2 separate regions of the Homo sapiens genome follow, and region 1 is linked to region 2. The links are contacts of gene promoters, found by promoter capture Hi-C in blood cells and fetal thymus (Javierre and others, 2016). All regions are on one chromosome and are shown on one strand. The core of a region is centred on a gene start or on the middle of the fragment in contact, and the rest is flanking DNA. Distances in the headings are between cores, read along the strand shown. Region 1 has its middle 10 kb from the start of H2BC11. Region 2 holds the start of H4C7 (H4 clustered histone 7).

Region 1 (7,248 bases), core at 1,608-4,107, 870 kb after region 2:
ATATTATATATATATATATTTTGCATGTGGATATTCAATTTTTCTAACACTACTTTTTGAAAAGACTATCCTTTCCACCAGGATGCCTTTGGGCCTCTTTCAAACATCAGTTGTTTATATACATGTTGGTTTGTTTCTGGATTCTCTATTGTGTTCCATTGACCTACTTGCCTATCTTACAACCATACCATGCTGTCTGGCTTTCTGAAGCTTTATAATAATTCTGTGAAATGAGGTAGTTGATAGCCATCCAGGTTTGTTCTTTTTCGGAGTTGTTTTGGCAACTGTAGATCCTTTTCATTTCCATATTAATTTTGGAATCAGATTGCCAATTTCTGCAAAGAAACCTCCTGGGTTTTGACTGGGTTAGTGTTGAATTTGTGTATTCGTTTGAGAATAATTGTTATCTTAACAATACTGAGTTTTCTGGCCTATAAGCAAGTTTTATCTCTCCAAGTATTAAAGTCTTCTTCAATTTCTCTCAGAAATATTTTGTAGTTTTCAGTGTATAGATATTTCACATCTTTTCTCAAACTTATCCCTAAGTATTTCATATTTTAGTTTTATTATAACTTTTTAAACATTTCTGATTGTTACTAGTATATACAAATGCAGTTTTTAATATTGATCTTGCATCCTACAGCCTTTCTGAACTCAACCATTAACTCTAGTAGCTTTTTGTACATTCTGATTTTCTACATGAGATGGCCATGTCATTTGAGAATAATAAGTGCTATCTTCACAATTTAGATGATTCTTCTTTCCTTCCATTGTTCCTTCTTTTCTTTCCTCTTTCTTTTTTCCCCTAATTTCACTAGCTAGAATTTCCAACATTGAATAGAAGTGGTGAAAGCAAACATGACTATCTTGTTTACGACCTTAGGGGGAAAACATTCAGTCTTTAAGTATAATCTTAGTTGTAGATTTTTTGTAAATACACTTTATCACATTAGGAAGTTCTCCTCTATTTCTAGTTTACTGAGAGTTTTCATCAGTAATGAATGTTGAATTATGTCAAATGCTTTTTCTGCCTTATAGTGTGACAGTCCTCCACCAGCTTGCTTAAGGGTGATATCTGCTACTTGAACCCTGAAGGCTGGGTGATAAGCCAAGACCATGGTACCCAGCTGAGGAGCAGGTATCCCTGAGAACCCAAACATCCCAGAGAGTATCTGATCAAGGAAAACAGTCTCCTTGCCTAAACACAGTAGGCAAAGACCAGAACATTAGCTTAAAAGCAGCTTAGAGATGGTGGCAACACAGCTCTCTAGAGCTGTCTTGCTGCCGTCCAGGAATGCCCTGTATATAAGTCCTAATAAACTCATCTACTTATCAAGCTGAACTTGTCCAAGTCATACTTTGGTCTCTCGGTTCCTTCTGAGTTTGGGAGAAATGTTACAGTCCCACGTTTTTCTTGTAACATTCCTCTGTTGAGATTTCTTAGTTTGTTAATATGGTATATTATGTTGATTGATTTTTCTAATGTTTAACCAACTCTACATTTTTTGGAAAAGCCAGGAATACTTGATCATGATGTATTATTCTTTTTACATATTACTGAATTTGAATTTTCTAAAATTTTGTTTAGAACCTTTGTATCTCTGTTCATGAAGGATATTGGTCAATAAGTTTCTTTGTTTATATTTGTCCAGTTCTAGTATCAAGATGATGTTGCCCTATGGAACGAATTAAGTTAACCAATATTTTAAGAAGCCAGATAGTAAATATTTTAGGCTGTGCAGACAATAAGGTCTCTGTCACAACAACTCAACTTTGCTGTTCTGGTGGGAAAGTAGACATAGATAATACACAAATAAGTGAATGTGGTTGTGTTCCAATAACACTTTTTTTGAAAATCAGGTGGTGGGTCATATTTGGTCTGTGGGCCATAGTTTGTTGACCTCTGAGTTAGGAAGTATTTCTTCCTGATTCTAACACTTCTATGAAAATGAAAAGCCAATTATAAAGAAGAACACAGTTGGAGAACTTACACTATAAGTTGCCAACCCCTATCTTAAACTATGGTAATGAGAATGATTGCTATTGAGCCAGAAACATGTGTGTAGTCACCTGATTCATGAGAAAGGTAACACTGCAGTGCAAGGGTTGTCTTTTCAACAAATTACGTTAGTTAGGTCAATGATATGTCCATATGGAAAAGTCCATATGGAAAAAATTGTTACAAATCGATAAGTACAAATAATTTAAAAATGGGCAAAGACATGAACATTCTCTTCCACTAAATGACATTCAATGTATATGAAGCATATGAATAGGTACACAATATTATGACTCATCAGGAAACTGAAAATGAAAGCAACAGTGAGATATCACTAACACATCCTATTCAGAAAGGCAAAACTTAAAGCCTAACAAGATAAAGGCAAAAATTTGAAGCAATTAAAATCATCTTATATTATAGGAGTTTGAATTGGTTTATACATTTTAGAAAAATATTTGTCAGTGTTTACTAAACCTAAATATATGGTTACCTTAAAAACTGTTAATTCCATTCCTATTATATGCTCAAAAGAAATGAGCACAGGCTGGGCGCAGTAGCTTATGCCTGTAATCCCAGCACTTTGGGAGGCCGAGGCGGGTGGATCACAAGGTCAGGAGATCAAGACAATCCTGGCTAACATAGTGAAACCCTATCTCTACTAAAAATACAAAAAATTAACCGGGCATGGTGGCACCCACCTGCAGTCCCAGCTACTCGGGAGGCTGAGGCAGGAGAATCACTTGAACCTGTGAGGCGGAGGTTGCAGTAAGCCGAGATTGTGCCACTGCACTCCAGCCTGGATGACAAACTGAGAATCCGTCTCAACAAAAGAAATGGGCACATATGTACACCAAAAAACATACACAAAAATATTCATAAAACTTATATTCATAATAGGGAAAAAGATAAGCTAAAAGCAACTGAAAAGTAACCAAGGCCATTACATTTTAAATTATTAACATTTCCTGAAATTGTCTTCTAAAACAATGTCTTCTTTTAATTCTTAAAAGTACAGATGAACACTTTAGTCCTAATGACATCATCATTTACAGAACATGGTGAGTTAACCAAATATTTTACCATGTATGTATAAATCTCAATAAAACAAAGAAGTTTTAGAATTCAAATCTATAAACTTTAAAGTATTGACTTTGTAACATGATTAATTTAAAAGTAAATTAAAATAAATGAGTTTGTGCCTGGCATCGTGGCTCACGTCTATATTCCCAGCATTTGGGAGGCTGAGATGGGCAGATCACCTGAGTTTGAGTTCGAAACCAGCCTCAACAACATGGAAAAACCCTGTCTTTACCAAAAAAAAAAAAAAAAAGAAAAAAAAATTGGCCAGGTATAGTCCCAGGTACTTGGGAGGCTGAGGTGGGAGGATCACTTGAGCCTGGGAGGCAGAGATTTCAGTGAGCCAAGAATGCATCATTGCACTCCAGCCTGAGCAACAGAGCCAGACCCTGCCTCAAAAAGAAAATATATATGTATATTAGTTTGATAAACTCCAATATAACTTTTTTACATAAAATTGATTTTTTAAGTTTATAAATATAAATATTTAAATATGATATTTAAATCCAATTTTGCTGGAAAGCCTAAACACAATGTGGAAGCTATTGACTTGTCCCATTATCAATCTTACATACTATTATAAAATAAATGATATACCATTATAGCTTCTCCCAACTATCCAAATGCTTATGGGTTAGGTGTGAAACCTACAAGATGAAGCAAATGAGGCTTTATCTAGGGGTGACAGTTTTATGGAAAGAAATGAGTATCAGGGAAGGCTACACAATGCAAAAACAAAATTCTGTGAGGACTTGAACCCAAGGCATTTTGCTTACCAGACAAGTAAGTTGAATGACAAAGCAACAATTCCCTGTCATAAAAGTTAATTTATTTGCTATTACAGTATAGACATTTTAAAACACACCAGAAGAATTTTAGAGTTTGAAAATGACAAGTTGCATTTTGTTTTGAGCAGGAAACATATCAAGACAAACTTCCTTCATACTAGACAGTATTGTAATCCCAGCGACTCAGGAGGCCCAAGCAGGAGGACCACTTCAGGCCAGGAATTTGAGATTAGCCTAGGAAACATAGCGAGACCTCGTCTCTAAGAAAATAAATTAGTCATTGTAGTAGCACACACCTGTAGTTCTAGCTACTTGGAAGGCTGAGGTAGGAGGATGACTTGAGCCCAGGAGTTTGAGGCTGCAGTGAACCATGATCACGCCACTGCACTCCAGCCTGGGTGATAGATCGAGACCCCATTTCTGGGAGGGTGGGAAAACCAGACATTGACAAGGCCTGAGCAGAGGAGGCTGCCAACTGTAGAAATTGCAAGTTATAAAGAAATTCTCTGTTTTCTACCTTGACAGCTATAAAAAGTCGCTCTAAAGAAAAAGAACCAGCTCTGGCCAGGCGCAGTGGCTCACACCTGTAATTCCAGCACTTTGGGACACCAAGGCAGGTGGATCACTTGAGGTCAGGAGTTTGAGACCAAGCCTGGCCAACATGGTGAAACCCTGTCTCTACTAAAAATACAAAAATTAGTGGAGTGTGGTGGTGCTCGCCTATAGTCCCAGCTCTCAGGAGGCTGAGGCAGAATTGCTTGAATCAGGGAGGCGGAGGTTGTGGTGAGTCAAGATTGCACCACTGCACTCCAGCCTGGGTGACAGAGTGAGAAAGAAAAGAAAAGAAGGAAAGAAAAGACAGGAAAACCAGTTATTTCCACTGTTTTCACAGAACAAATCAACAGACTGAAGTTTACTCGTGTCAACAGTGTGTGAGGTTACAATGTGATACTTACTATTCTTGAGATGGAAATGTTCAGAAAAGAAGCCACATAAAGCACATGGTGGAAGAGCAAAAATGCAAAACAGGCTTAAAGAACTGTGAGAGTTTAGAAAAAAGCAATAGATCAAAGGGATCAAGAATGGGCATTAGAAGATGAAACTGAAGACAGAATAGGGAGTAGGGGGTTCCAGGCATGGAAATAGGATATTCTGTATGAGGAAAAGAGAAGAACCTCTTTAGTTGGGCATGAAACATACATTCTAAGTAGAAATAATTTTTTTTTTCTTGAGATGACATCTAGCTCTGTCACCCAGGCTGGAGTGCAATGGCACAATCTTGGTTCACTGCAACCTCCGCCTCCCAGGTTCAAGCGATTCTCCTGCCTCAGCCTCCAAGTAGCTGGGATTACAGGTGCCCGCCACCACGCCCTGCTAATTTTTGTATTTTTAGTAGAGACGGGGTTTCACTGTGTTGGCCAGGCTGGTCTCTAACTCCTGACCTCGTGATCCGCCTGCCTTGGCCTCCCAAAGTGCTGGGATTACCGGCATGAGCCACCGTGCCTGGCCCGGTAGAAATAATTTTTAAAAACTTATCTGGAAAAATGTATATAGAAACAAGTAATGGTTTAAAACCCAGACTAAAAGGATACAAGCTCTTTTGAAAAACTTTGAGTAGAGAAGTTGCTTTCTCAGACTAAGCTTTGAAGTGTATTTCTTATCTGTCAGGAAGGTTGGAAGATGGCGAGCCTAGAAGTGGAGAAACCAGAAACTTTTCAAACAAGGAAGGGCCCCAGATGCTAGGCCATGTTCCTTCAGCCTCTGAAGTCAGCAGTGAATACATGTGACACAGGATTTCCTCCATAATGCTATGTGCCACGAATGCATGAAGGAATGAATGAAAAGAAAGCAAATGTGTGGGAATAATCTACAAGAGTTGGTAAGTCATTGGAGGTGGAGATGTATATCTAATGGGTGGGAATGCACAAATTTGTAAATATGTGTCAAGTGTACCATTGGGTACATGCGGACAAGGAATGTGGAGGGAACAGGAGCTGATACGTGAGAAGGAGCACATTTCAGAATCAAAACTATTCTGCTTTCTAGTACTGGCTTTGCCACTTATCAATCTTGTGACTTAAGGAAGTTTTCTACTCTGAGTCTCAGCTTCATCTCTAAAATGAGGATAATGATAACTGTTTGTGAAAAATATTAAGTTGGATAAAATAAAACAATGTAAATGACTCAATTTTTTTTTTCTGAGACAAAGTCTTCCTATGTCTCCCAGGCTGGAGTGCAGTGGTGTGATCTCGGCTCAGTGCAAGCTCCGCTTCCTGGGTTCACGTCATTCTTCTGCCTCAGCCTCCCAAGTAGCTGGGACTACAGGCTCCCGCCACCACGCCCGGCTAATTTTTTGTATTTTTAGTAGAGATGGGGTTTCACCGTGTTAGCCAGGATGGCCTCAATCTCCTGACCTCGTGATCCACCCACCTCGGCCTCCCAAAGTGCTGGGATTAGAGGCATTAGCCACCGTGCCTGGCCATGACTTACACTTTATTGTCCCCTAATACATAGCCCTGAATAGATGGCGGTGACTTTTTATAATAAGGTCCTTTTGGTGATATTTTCAAGAGGAGTGTCTCAGGCCATGTGGTTGCAAGTGCAGATTTAAAATAAGGAGAAATCTAGGCTAGAAACAAGTTTGCCAGCATTCATCCTTTCAGCTGTACTACGTCACCTACTCTGCACTAGGGCCAGAGAGGAAACAATGGCTGGTGAAAGAGCAACTGATATTTCTGAAGGCGGGAAGACATAAATAATTAGAACAAAAGAGAGGGTGAGCAAGGAATAGTGTTGACAGCGCAGCCCTCAAGTCTTGGGTCCTTCTAAGTGCAGGATGGAAAAGGAAGCATTGATGATACATAAATTCTTACAAGCCAATGTTTCTCTTCTAGGAGAAATGGAAACTCAGAAATCAGTGCTCTCAAAGAAGGGAAATTAGGTATGATTTCTTGGGAGCCACAACCCAACAAGGCTTTCCAAATAATACAGTCCTGAATTTGAGCCTCAGAGAAGGCAGGTATATTTTCAAGTCATGCACTGTATCAATTGCCTTTTTTTGGTACATAAAAGAAAATACTGTATATGCTAATAATCATTAACAAAAAAACATTCAGGTAAAAAGAAAAAATCTGAGTTTTAACAAAACTGAAAAACACTCAGAAGAGGACTATATGGAATGACAATTTGTTTTTCATCTTCTGGATCATCCCCTGAGGAAAGTAAAGAAATTTCCCTCAGGATATTCCAGTTGGCAACAGCAGAGCAGAGGAATATTACTTTATTCATTTATTCAGAGAAGTACTTTGCTGGGCACTGTTCTAGAAGCTGGGAAATACAAGTGATCAAAATATAACCTACCCCACAACTCCCAAATCCAGC
Region 2 (6,636 bases), core at 3,231-5,730:
GACTTAGGAGCTACTGCACACTTAAATAGTTGGGAGTAATTCTTGCCCTCTTCCCAAGATATTTTCAGGTCTTGAACAATGTCTTTAATTTAGTATCCTCAGGATGTAGTATTTAGTTCATAAATGTTTGTGCAATGACTGAAGGAATCAATGAAATTAAGCTATCTGGGCCATCACCAATATACCGTTATAAAAATCATTCCCCTTTAATTAAGCAATATCTCTACTCCCACAGAACCATCTTCTCTATTCACCTTTACACAAATGTCAATATTCATGGCTGCCAACAATTTATATTACAGACTTTTTAAAATGCAGATTGAGATCCATTCACGGGTAATGAAAATAATTTAGTGGGTCCCAACCAGCATATAAAACGTAAATAGAATCCAATATAACAACTAGAAATTATCAAAGTATCCCATCTAGTAAGTAAAAATATTGTGTCATAAAATTTTAGTTTCAAATAGATGTACTTTTGGTTTTACTTTGGAACTTGAAGGAGAAAAGGTTCAAAAGATACTGGTCCATTTATTTAATGTATATATTTGTCAAATTCTCAGGTTAGGACATTGCCTCACTTCCCTGGGTTTCAGAACTTCAATACTCAGCCTCATTTGCAGCTGGAATGCAGATCTGTAACCTAGGCTTCACCAATGAGTCACAGGTTTAAAAGACTTATCTTCAAAAATGGGACCCAGGAGAGAAGAGACTGCCTAAAGCCTCTGTTTCTGCTGTGACAGATGTCAGATGGGCCAACTTTTGGTAGTAGCAGCAGCCATAGGTTACAGGTGAGTCAAGTTCTGATTCAGAAATAACAGGTGTGACACACCAGCACCTGACTAGTTCTGCAGCACAGCTTTGGAGTTTGTCCCTGGGAGTGTCATCAGGCGTGGTTCTACAGCCCTCCCAAGAATGCTAATATCTATTCAATATCCCTTTAAACATCACAGTTAATGTGCGATTACCAGTCAGCTGGCAACTAAGAATTTAGAGTTTCAAACAAAAAGGGTTTTAACTATTTTCTAATGGACTTTTGTGTATTTTAGGAATTCGGAGTCGTTTTACAACACTATTAAAAGGTTTTATGCCTTACTATACTTCTGGTAGCAATAATGCCTCCCCCCCAGATGCCCGCATCTTAATCCCAAAAGCTGCGAATATGTTTCCTTAAATGGTAAAAGTAACTTTCCAATGTTATTAAATTAAGGCTTTTGAGATTGGATGATTCTGGATTACCTGAGTGGTGCCATTGTAATCACAAGGATCCTTATAAGTAGAAGCGAGGAGAGTCAGAGTCAGAGAAGTGATAAGGGTAATGGAGTGTGATGCCTTTTGTAAACAGAGGAAGGGGCCACACTAGTTGCCCTTTGTTTCCTGAAACACATAAAGCTTTTCTCACCTTGAGATTTTCCACTTGCATGTCCTCTGGCCCAGAACATCCTTGGCGTGGCTCCCAATCTATGTGTGACTTCACACAAGAGCAGTGATATTTAAGCCAGTCATTTTGGCTACAATTCACTGTTTAAACACTATGTCATACTTTACAGGGCCATAGAAAATTATGGCAATTGCTGGAATGTTGTTTGACAGAATAGAGTGGAGAAACCCTGAAAGGTAAAAAGCTTGGCTTTGACAGAAAAAATAAATAACAATGAGAAAATGTGTATCCTAGAAAGGGTTTTTAAATTCTAGATTGACTCTTGCATTAAAATCTATTTTTAAAAAGTTTTGTTGTGTTCTGCTTCATGTGTTTGTTGTTGTTAAACAATGATTATTGTGTCGTTTCATTTACCCCTATGAAAGTGAAATAATACAAATCAAACATACACCATTGTAAGTTAAAAACTCATAGATTGAGAAAGTAAATATTTAATTCTGTGGAATTAAGTATATAAAGTTTTTCTTATATAAGAGTCTGTAGATCCTGTGTGGTTTACAGAAAAATTTAACTTTGACACCGTCTCTACAAGCTGTTTCCAGTGGCAAGGCAAAGGATTGGCCAAAAAAAAAAAAAAAAAAAAAACATATAATAGAAACACAGAACTGTTCACGACGTTTATTTTATGAAACATGGAAGTGGTGTCATTTCCTCATAAAGTGTCTTCCAGTAGGACCTCTAGACTTATTTCCACTTTCTCCTCCAAGCCCTGGGCTTTGGGAGACTAACTGTATGGTTCTGACCAATATGCTACCCAGACCTCCACCTTCTGGAAGGATTCAGCCAGTGGAAACCCCATGCAGGAGACTGGAGGAAAGGAGGAAAATGAGATGGGGTATTTATTCCCCAGTTTCCCTTTCATTGGCTGTTAGCAGCATCTCTCCAGACCAGGGATCCCTCTCTCTGCAGCTATAGCAATTGCTTCCCATGCCCCTTCAGGGTTATAAGTGATCCTTACTAGACCTGGATGGAGGCACTACTTTTTTAGTTTTCTGTATCCTGCCCTTAATTTGCAAATAATTTCTTTAAGAAACCCTCCTCCAATTATCCCATGTGAGTAAGCTACTTGTTTCCTGTCTTGACCTTAGCAGAACCCAATATTTTCACTACACAGCACAAAGTTTATGGCCATAATATCCAAAAGAATTGATGTAACTTAAATGCAAGTTTCTCCATGTCACACCTCATTAACATGCTTCCAACAGCATAAGGTTAATTCTCAGTTTCTCAATTTGCAAGAGGAGGCCCTCCTCAATCAGGCAACTGCCAGGCATGCATCTTTGGTCATATATGTATTCCCAGTCTCCATGGCATCAAACTACTTATTGCCCCTTGTGTCTTCACACTAGTGGAGACCTACCCTCTCCCAACAGTACCTGAACTGCCCTGTTCCCATGTCCCTCCCCTCTGGCTAACAGCTGATCATGATGAGTGAGAGCAAGAGGAATAAATGTGCCTGCATATGACAAGTGTCATGCGGCTCAGTGTCCTGCTACTTGCATCCTCTCTCTGCAGACAGGTCTTTTACACTTACCTGTTCAGAGACCTCTCCCGTGATGGCACCAGAGTTTGTAACAGTTTATTATGTTAATTTTTCCCAAATTTTTATTATAAAAATATTCAGAATAAAACATAACAAAAGATGGGTTTATCAGTCATCCACTACCTACATTCAATAGAGTGGATTTTACCACCATCCGAAAGTAAATGACAGACTCATGAGAATTTACACCTACACACTTCAGCATCTAACCCCTAACAATAAGGGAAATTCCATGTAATCTCAATATATCAAACCTTTCTTTAAAAACTTACTAAAATGACCTGTTATCCAGTTCACGTTCAAGTTTCCTTGATTATCTCCAAAATGCCCTTTAAAACTTTAGAGACAGAATGCAATTAATACATTTAGTTGCTATGTTACTTTAATCTCCTTCAAACTTAAAGTCCTCCAGTTTTTCTCGGTGGCTTTTTGAACAAAGCAATTGTCCCAAATGTTCCACATTCTGGAAGGTTTTTTCCCCCTCTTGAGATGTTTAATTGGCTCTTTGACCCCTGTACTTTCATAAACAGTAAATTGAGACACGAATTATTGCAGTTACACCTTATCAAGGTGTTTCTATATTTACGATGGATCACAAGCAAAGGCACGAAACAGGTAAACTTCTTTTAGTGCTGCTAAATTAGATCATTGAACTAGCAAGGGGGCCAGTCCCTCCACTGCAGACACATTTGTCAGAACGGCACCTGGCAAGTTTGTGCTAATTATTGTGTATTCTCTGGTTATTGAAATTGCTTATTAAGCAGAATATAAAAGTCGGGTTATCTTGGCACTAAAACTACAATTTTAATTACGGAGGGTAATCCTAACAGTAAGGAGAAAAACACACTACCATAACCACATTTTGAGAGCTTTTAAGTGACAATGTAGCCGTTGATGTCCTCAGCCAGCCCACCAGATTTCTAATCTCTGAACACACGATTAACTTACCACCTGTATTCCATGTTGTATGTCAGCCTTGGCGTAAATTTATACTTTACAGCATTATACACCTAACAGCTTTTGGGCACCTACAGCAATAAAACACACAATATTGCTGAGTGCGTTAGTTAAGTTTCCACAATGTCAAACGTGAGCCCTTCGGAAGAAAACGTACGCGGCCCTGAAAAGGGCCATTAACGATATTGCAAGGAAAGGCCTGGCCTCACTTAACCGCCAAAGCCTTACAGGGTTCTTCCCTGGCGTTTGAGCACGTAGACCACGGCCATGGCGGTGACCGTCTTGCGCTTGGCGTGCTCCGTGTTGGTCACGGCGTACCAGATCACATTTTCCAGGAACACCTTGAACACCCGGCGGGTCTCCTCATAAATGAGGCCCAAGATGCGCTTGACACCGCCATGCCGGGCCAAGCGCCGGATAGTGCACTTGGTAATGCCCTGAATATTATCGCTCAGTACCTTGCGATGGCACTTGGCACCGCCTTTCCCAAGGCCTTTTCCGGCCTTGCCCCGAACAGACATGATAAACAAGTCAGAACTATCTCTAAACAAAACGATTACTCGCTTTCCGCAGCCTTTTATATAACGGTAGAGTAGACCTTTTTGAAAACTGAAAGACCAGGAAAGGCGGGAAAACGTATTCAGTCCCCGCTCATCTACTTCTAGTAATAACAAGACATAAGAAATTCTCTTGTAGTAGGGAGATTTGCTGGCATTTAGAGAATAAGGATCTCTAAACGAAAGTGTCAAACATGTACCTAGAGGAAAGTATCTCGATTTTTGATGTCTGTATGTGTTTAAAGATTTACTCCTGGCCGGGCGCGGTGGCTCACGCCTGTAATCCCAGCACTTTTGGAGGCCGAGGCGGGCGGATCACGAGCTCAGGAGATCGAGACCATCCTGGCTAACACGGTGAAACCCTGTCTCTAATAAAAATACAAAAAATTAGCAGGGCGAGGTGGCGGGCGCCTGTAGTCCCAGCTATGCAGGAGGCTGAGGCAGAAGAATGGCATGAACCCCGTGGGGTGGAGCCTGCAGTGAGCCGAGATCACGTCACTGCACTCTAGCCTGGGCAAGGGCGAAGCCCGTCTCAAAAAAGAAAAAAAAAAGATTTACTCCTTCCCTGTATATTAGAGCATTTACCATGCTGAAGTTGAAACAAGCCCAAATTCCAAGACATAAAAGAATTCCTAATCATATTGCCAAGCCGCCCAGCTAAAGAGAAGTAGCCTGGTTTTTGGTTTCGAATCTGTGAGTGACTGCTCTCTCACCGATATTAGACATGTTAATCTGAGTTTCAATGGCCCTATCTGTAAAAAGGGTAAATACTTGTTAATAATTGAGTTACTTTAAGCAAAACACTGGCATATAGTTAGTAAATGATTTTTTTTTAAAATACGGAGTTTCGCTCTTGTTGCCCAGGCTGGAGTGCAATGGCGCAATCTCTGCCCACTGCAACCTCCACCTTCTGGGTTCAAGCTATTCTCCTACCTCGGCCTCCCAAGTAGCTGGAATTACAGGTATGTGCCACCACTCCCGGCTCATTTTTGTATTTTAGTAGAGACCAGATTTCACGTTGGCCAGGCTGGTCTCCAACTCCTGCCCTCAGGTGATCCGCCCGCCTTGGCCTCCCAAAGTGCTGGGATTACAGGCGTGAGCCACCTCACCGGCCAGTTGGTAAACGAATTCTTATTGCCACAGCCTTTTTTTACAGACAAAATAATAATGCAGAGGTAAAGCACACCGAAGGATTTTAAAACATTGCCTTTGCAACACCAATACATTCAGTGTGCTTTCACTTATATTAAGCACTATACAATTAAGCAATGAAGAATTGCCCAGAAAAAAGATAATGTAAATTGCCAGAGGCTCCATGCCCTGTTCTCATGTGGAGGACAGAAGGTACAGGGGGTGACTGTCTTCTGGGGTTGATACAACAGGAAACTCAGGGAAAGCTGTCATAAATGTTAATAGGAGAAAAGGGGAATTTGCTCACAAGCCAAAATAAAGACATAAGCACCACTAAATTTTTACATTACAAAATACTTGCTGAGCTAGTTAAACGAGAGCATTTAAGTGGAAATAAATGATGTCTCTAAAATAGAATGTTCAAAATAACAATGGATTTTTTATTGTGCAGTTACGATGCACCAAACAAACAGTCCTAAAGATCATGGGTTTTTGAAGCAGGGTCAGCAATATCTAAAAAATCATGTAACTGCATAAATGAATTATGGCCTAATGAGCAGGTCACCACAACAAAAAGCCAAGAGTGCAAACAACTATTTGTGGGGAAAACAAACAAACAAACTTGATAAACCATGGAATTCCAAGCAATAAAAGCAGCAATCCCATCACAGCCTATTTCTACATTATTTTGAAATAATTAGATTTTTTTTTTTTTTTTTTTTTTTTTTTTTTGAGGCGGGGTCTCACTCTGTAGCCCAGGCTGGAGTGCAGTGGCACGATCCCGGCTCACTGCAACCTCCACCTCCCAGGTTCAAGTGATTCTTCTGCCTCAGCCTCCCTAGTCGCTGGGATTACAGTTGCCTGCTACCACGTCCGGCTAATTTTTTGTATTTATAGTAGACAGGGTTTCTCCATGTTGGCCAGGCTGATTAAATTACTAGAATAACAAGAAATTGCGCTGGGCACGGTGGATTACGCCTGTAATCCTAGCACTTTGGGAGGCCAAG

What was found. The method cuts DNA at HindIII sites, captures the fragments that hold promoters and counts their contacts. A CHiCAGO score of 5 or more calls a contact.
Region 1: a fragment that was not itself captured here is called in contact with the fragment with the promoter of H4C7 in region 2 in 1 of 17 cell types (erythroblasts); the score reaches 5.5 in erythroblasts.

What each region holds. Positions count from the first base shown.
Region 1 is chr6:27,118,766-27,126,013 of GRCh38, forward strand. No RefSeq gene overlaps it. Among named protein-coding and RNA genes, the nearest start is that of H2BC11, 10 kb to the right of the region's middle. The HindIII fragment of the contact is 5,298 bases long and covers 209-5,506 here.
Region 2 is chr6:26,242,516-26,249,151 of GRCh38, forward strand. H4C7 (H4 clustered histone 7) reads right to left here and starts at 4,481. Exons shown (of 1, transcript NM_003547.3): 1 at 4,096-4,481. The coding sequence starts at 4,462. The coding sequence ends at 4,166. The HindIII fragment of the contact is 5,476 bases long and covers 1,624-6,636 here.